Regions from separate parts of the Homo sapiens genome. Here region 1 is linked to region 2. Evidence: promoter capture Hi-C in 16 types of primary human blood cells and fetal thymus (Javierre and others, 2016). All regions are on one chromosome and are shown on one strand. The core of a region is centred on a gene start or on the middle of the fragment in contact, and the rest is flanking DNA. Distances in the headings are between cores, read along the strand shown. Region 1 overlaps ARPC2 (actin related protein 2/3 complex subunit 2). Region 2 holds the start of VIL1 (villin 1).

Region 1 (2,751 bases), core at 66-2,565, 190 kb after region 2:
TTATTTATATACAAAGACAGGGTCTCACTACGTTGCCCAGGCTGGGCTTGAACTCTTGACCTCAAGCGATGCTCCTGCCTTGGCCTCCAAAAGTGCTGGGATTACAGGAATGAGCCCCCACGCCTGGCTGAACAATAATTTCCTAATATTCCACATATTTATTTAACCATTTTCCTATAGCTGGAAGAAATTTTCAACCTGCAAGACTACATTTTCTTACACAAGGGCAAAAGATAAATAATGCCACCTGTAGTTCCTATTTGGTGATTGCACAGCCACTGTGAGGTATTTCTTTTACCGAAGAGGAATTGAGAGGAGGGGCTCAAGGTCACGAGAGTTTCTTGGTGGCACAGAGAGACTTGACCTTCAGGTGTCTGATATACCACTTCTTTAAAAAAAAGTAACATGCATATCCCAAGAATTTGAAACAGCATGCGACCTCTGAGCTACAAGTCTGTGTTGCACGTACTATTGGTATTTCGAGGAAGGGGAAATCAGATGTGGTGGGGATTTAGTTTAAATCCCTAAGTCCCTAAGATTTAGTTTAATTTCAAGCTTACTAAGTTAATATTCTGAGATCTAAGAGGTACTGAGAGCCAAATTTATATCATGTTCAACTGCTTTGCTCCCTCCCCTTGGTAAAACCAGCCAACACTTCCTTGTCACTTCACTTGCACTTTTAACCATGATTCACTTTTCAGTTTGTACCCCCTCTCCCAATGACACCAGGAGATGGGTGGAGGCAACCTATCACTCATCACCATTACCTTCCCACTCTAGCAGCAGAGGCATTCCACCTTTAAAAATGGCCTGTGACAAAGTAATAACCTTCCTGTGGTTATCATGGGTTGGTCACTGTTTAACCAACCCAGGGAGCCATTTACTGTGCACTCTGCTCCAACACTATGAATGTTACTTACTCCACCCACTTGAGTGGGTGGGGCTGGTTCTTTGACCCTTGTGGTAGCTACAAGAATAGCAATGTGTTCTGGAGCTCCATCGTAAGAAAAGCACAGAATGGAAAGGAGATTTAAGAAATCTAGCTTAACTCTTTCTTTCCAGGATTATTATTATTGCATTTAGATCTTTTCCTTTTTTTGAGGTGGAATCTCACTATGTCGTCCAGGCTGGACTTGAACTCCTGGGCTCCAGCAACTCTCCCCACTTGAACCCCTCAAGCCAACTGTGTGAAGTCCCAACACACAGTTGGCACTACAGGTGTGTGCCACTGTGCAGGCTTGCACCTAGTGAAGACTGTCTAGGGGAGAATGATTACACAATTTAAAAAAAGTCTATTCAAATATTTTAACACTTCTTTTCAGGTAGTTATAGCTGATCCAAAGCAGCGATGCAGCTGGACATGGTGGCTCACATCTATAATCCCAGCACTTTGGGAGGCCCAGGAAGGAGGACTGCTTGAGCCCAGGAGTTTGAAACTAGCCTGGGCAACATAGTGAAACCTCCTCTCTCTAAAGAACAAACAAACAAAAAATAAGCCAGGTGTGGTGGCACGTGCCTGTAGTCCCAGACACTCAGGAGGCTGAGGTGAGAGGACTGCTTGAGCCTGGGAGGTTGAGGGGTGCAGTGGCTGTGATTGTGCCACTGCACTCCAGCCTAGGTGACAGAACAAGACCTTGTCAAAAAAAAAAAAAAAAAAAAAAAAGAAAAAAAAAAGAAAAGGCTGGGCACGGTGGCTCACACCTGCAATCTTAGCACTGTGGGAGGTCGAGGCAGGCAGATCACCTGAGGTCAGAAGTTTGAGAGCAGCCTGGCCAATGTGGTGAAACGCCATCTCTATGAAAAGTACAAAAAATTAGCCAGGTGTAGCGGTGCATGCCTGTAATCCCAGCTACTCAGGAGGCTGAGGCAGATGAACTGCTTGAACCCAGGAGTTGGAGGTTGCAGTGAGCTGAGCTGGCGCCACTGCAGTACAGCCTGGGGCAACAGAGTGAGACTCCACCTCAAAAAAAAAAAAGAGGCAGGGCTGCTTTAATAGCCATTTGTTTTCTTTCACTCTTTATCTGGTAAAGAAGTGTCAGCCACTATCTTTTACAAAACAATTCTTCATAAGCTTTATAAAAGCACTAGGTCTTCTTTCTGAAGCTTTTCTTTTTCCAGTAAACTAATCTGGATTCCAAATCCTCTAAATATTTCTTCTTTCTTTGAACTTATGAGAAAATCAATTGCATTTGAATAACTAAGGGAAGCAACCAATGGCTCTTGGTATTAAGACTAATTTTAGTTTTTATGCTAAAAAATTAAACAAGCTTTTGACCATATTCCTTTACAAATCATCTTTTATTATATAAGTTTTAAATAATTCAAAAGCTACTACTTTTCAGAAAGAAACAGCTATGGTTATATCTTCATTTAACAGATTAAGGAGAACCTAGTTTGTTAAAACTAAGAAATTTGAAAACTGATTCAGGAACTGAGTCATATTTCCTGCTTTGAGACCCAACCACAGCGTGCACAAACTGGTGTAATAGCATTTTCTTTCTTCCATAAATGGCTCTCCTCAGAGCAAATACAGTTCAACAGGAACCAAACCTGCTACTTAACTATTTAAAGAAGCCAGTGAACAAGGCATGGCCACCGAAGTTTCATAATGTCTGGACATCTTTCTTATTTCCCCTATGGTAGTTATAAAGAAGAGATATTTAAAGACGGTAGCTTTAAAGAGCTTTAATTAAAAATTTCAAAAGACAGCTATTTGTGCCTAAGCCTCCAGAATGAGAACCTGAGACTATA
Region 2 (3,186 bases), core at 540-3,039:
ATAGTAGGTGCTCAACAAATACTCATGGGCTGGGCGTGGTGGCTCACGCGTGTAATCCCAGCACTTTGGGAGGCCGAGGCAGGCGGATCACGAGGTCAGGAGATCAAGACCATCCTGGCTAACACGGTGAAACCCTGTCTCTACTAAAAATACAAAAAATTAGCCGGGCGAGATGGTGGGCGCCTGTAGTCCCAGCTACGCGGGAGGCTGAGGCAGGAGAATGGCGTGAACCCAGGGGGTGGAGCCTGCAGTGAGCTGAGATCACGCCACTGCACTCCAGCCTGGATGAAAGAGTGAGACTCCTTCTCAAAAAAAAAACAAAAAAAAAAAAAACAAATACTCATGATGCTGAAAGGCTGAACTGTGGGATGGAAGGAGGACCCTCCCAGGGCACTGGAGGGGTTTGGGCTCCCACTGTCTGCAGGTCCATCTTGCCTTTCTTTCTTTTTTCTTTTTTTCTTTTCTTTTTTTTTTTTTTTTTTTGAGACAGAGTCTCACTCTGTCACCCAGGCTGGAGTGCAATGGTGCAATTCTGGCTCACTGTCATCTCCGCCTCCTGGGTTCAAGCGATTCTCGTGCCTCAGCCTCCCGAGTAGCTGGGACTATAGGCGTGCGCGAGCACACCCAGCTAATTATGTATTTTTAGTAGAAACGGGGTTTCACTATGTTGGTCAGGCTGGTCTTGAAGTCCTGACCTCAAGTGATCCACCCCACTTGGCCTCCCAAAGTGCTGGGATTCCAAGCATGAGGCTCTGCACCTGGCCCACCATGCCTTTCTTATCTGAGCCCTGTTGTACTTGAGTTGCGGCTCTGTTGTAAGTGGGGTGCTGCCACGGCTCCTAGTTCCCAGTCGTGCAGCTCTGAGCTGGACAGGAATGTGGTGGGGCAGTGGGGGTGAAGTCCCACCCCTCAGACAAAGGACATCCTCCTGCTTCCCAGGCTCATGATAGAAGAGGGAATGGACACCCGCCAAGACCCTCCAGCCCAAAGGCTCTGCCCCAGCAGATGATGTCCCGAGAAGACAGCAGCCAGTGTGTCCTCAGAGCCTGGTCTGCAGCTAGCTCCCATTCCTAGTTCTGCTGAATGGGCCCACAGTGGCTGGGGAGGCCAATGGGGCAGCTCCGGGTAGAGGGGAGATGGGGCAGAGGTGCATGCTAGGGTGGCCCGGCATGGCCCAGGACCTAAGGCCCTGCCACCTCCAGCCCCTTGCCTCTGCCCTTGCCTCTGTGTGTGCCCATTCAATTGCTGGTGGCTGTTGCTCATATGCTAGGAGCCAGGAGGCAGGACCCGGAGGTCCCAGGAGTGTCAGAGGAATGGTGACACAAAGAAAAAAACACTTCAGATGAAGAACGCACGGGCAAAGAGATGAGCTGGTGGGGAGGGGGCTCGGGGAGTGAGGTCAGGGAGACCAACTAGTCCCGGTCTGCCCAGCACTGTCCTGGTTTTAACTCTAGAAGTTCCAGGGCAATTGGGATGGTGACACCCAAAGTGGGATGGGGCTAGCCACAGGTAGGAGACTGAGAGAGCCATTGTCTGGGGCAGGGCCTGCAAAAGTCTCTCCCTGGAGGCCCAGGGCAGACACACTGGGCTCCCAGCACTTCTCACGCTATCCAGAGTGTCAAGCCTCCCCTTCGAGCCCGTACCAAGGTGCTCCAGGAGGCCCCAAGTTGCCCGAGAAAAGCAGAGGACCCCGTCCCCTCGCACCACCTAAGGTCTCCATGTGTTCCCACCAGGTTGCCTTACCTGTCTTGGGGAGGCAGCTGCCACCTGGGAGATCTCAGGGAATTGTGGCAAGCTGGCTGCAGAAGAGCGACCTTTGTCCCCACCCCCCCTCCTCTAGGAACTGCCTTCACCATATAAGGGAAGATAGGGCCCCAGAGAGGTGAGGGGGTGGGGAGGCAGGTGCTGCCAGGTCCCTGGGAGCCCAGAGCCCTCCACAGCCTGACAATGAGAGCTGATGTGCCCCACCCTTGGCTTTTTTTTTTTTTTGAGCCTCACTCTGTCATTCAGGCTGGAGTGCAGTGGTATGAATTCGACTCACTGCAACCTCCGCCTCCCAAGTTCAAGTGATTCTCCTGCCTCAGCTTCCCAAGTAACTGGGACTACAGACATGTGCCACCATGCCTGGCTAATTTTTGTATATTTAGCAGAGACAGGGTTTCACCATGTTGGCCAGGCTGGACTTGAACTCCTGACCTCAAATGATCCACCTGCCTCGACCTCCCAAAGTGCTGGGATTACAGGTGTGAGGCCCGGCGCCCAGCCCCTCCCTTGGCTTCTGAGTGAGCAAGGGATGGGGTGCTTTTCTGCCCAGGGCCCAGGCCCTCACCACAGGCAGACAGCACTGTCCAGGTAGGGTCAGCGGCGCCTGAACCTTTCCTCCTACCAACCAAGAGAAGGAGGCTCAGCTGTCCTCCCACCTGCCCTGGGGTGAATGGTTCATGGAGAAAGAGAGGCAGGACTCTAGGGTTGCAGAAGCCCCAAACCCAGGAATGCAGGGACTTATACTCAGGGCCCCTCCAGAACAGATGGGAGGTCTCTTAGAGGTCTCCTAGAGGTCTCTTCTCAGCATGACCCTCACTTAGCAAGGGCCCCAGTGAGCACAACTGCTCCTCCTCTCCACCCTTAGGGGCACTGGCTCCACCTGGAGTGTTTTTTTTGTTTTCGTTTTTTTTGCTGAGATGGAGTCTGTCTCTGTCGCCCAGGCTGGAGTGCAGTGGCGTGATCTCATCTCACTGCATCCTCCGCCTCCTGGGTTCAAGTGATTCTCCTGCCTCAGCCTCCCGAGTAGCTGGGATTACAGCCGCACACCACCACGCCCAGCTAATTTTTGTATTTTTAGTAGAGACGGGGTTTCACCATGTCGGCCAGGCTGGTCTTGAACTCTTGACCTCGTGATCCGCCCACCTCGGCCTCCCAAAGTGCTGGGATTACAGGCGTGAGCCACTGCACCCGGCCCACCTGGAGTTTTTATGAGATGCCATAAACCAGTGCCTTTGAACTCTGTTCTGCTACCCTCTCCCAGAAGCCAAGGTTTCCATGTCTGACCCCTGACCCTAGGGGATCCATCTCACTCAGGCAGGAAAGTTGTGCAGCCAACTCCAGCGTGGATCTCGCTGAGAAACCAGCTTCACACGCAAACTCAGCACCTTGGGCAGCTGCCTCCCAGACTGCAGAAATTCTCCT

Evidence for each region. The method cuts DNA at HindIII sites, captures the fragments that hold promoters and counts their contacts. A CHiCAGO score of 5 or more calls a contact.
Region 1: a contact is called between a fragment that was not itself captured here and the fragment with the promoter of VIL1 in region 2, in 3 of 17 cell types (total CD8 T cells, naive CD4 T cells and monocytes). The highest score is 7.6, in total CD8 T cells.

Annotation. Positions count from the first base shown.
Region 1 is chr2:218,229,200-218,231,950 of GRCh38, reverse strand. The region is part of intron 4 of ARPC2 (actin related protein 2/3 complex subunit 2); the gene reads right to left. Among named protein-coding and RNA genes, the nearest start is that of ARPC2, 13 kb to the right of the region's middle. The HindIII fragment of the contact is 1,516 bases long and covers 558-2,073 here.
Region 2 is chr2:218,417,726-218,420,911 of GRCh38, reverse strand. VIL1 (villin 1) reads right to left here and starts at 1,789. Exons shown (of 20, transcript NM_007127.3): 1 at 1,744-1,789. The HindIII fragment of the contact is 19,335 bases long and covers 1-3,186 here.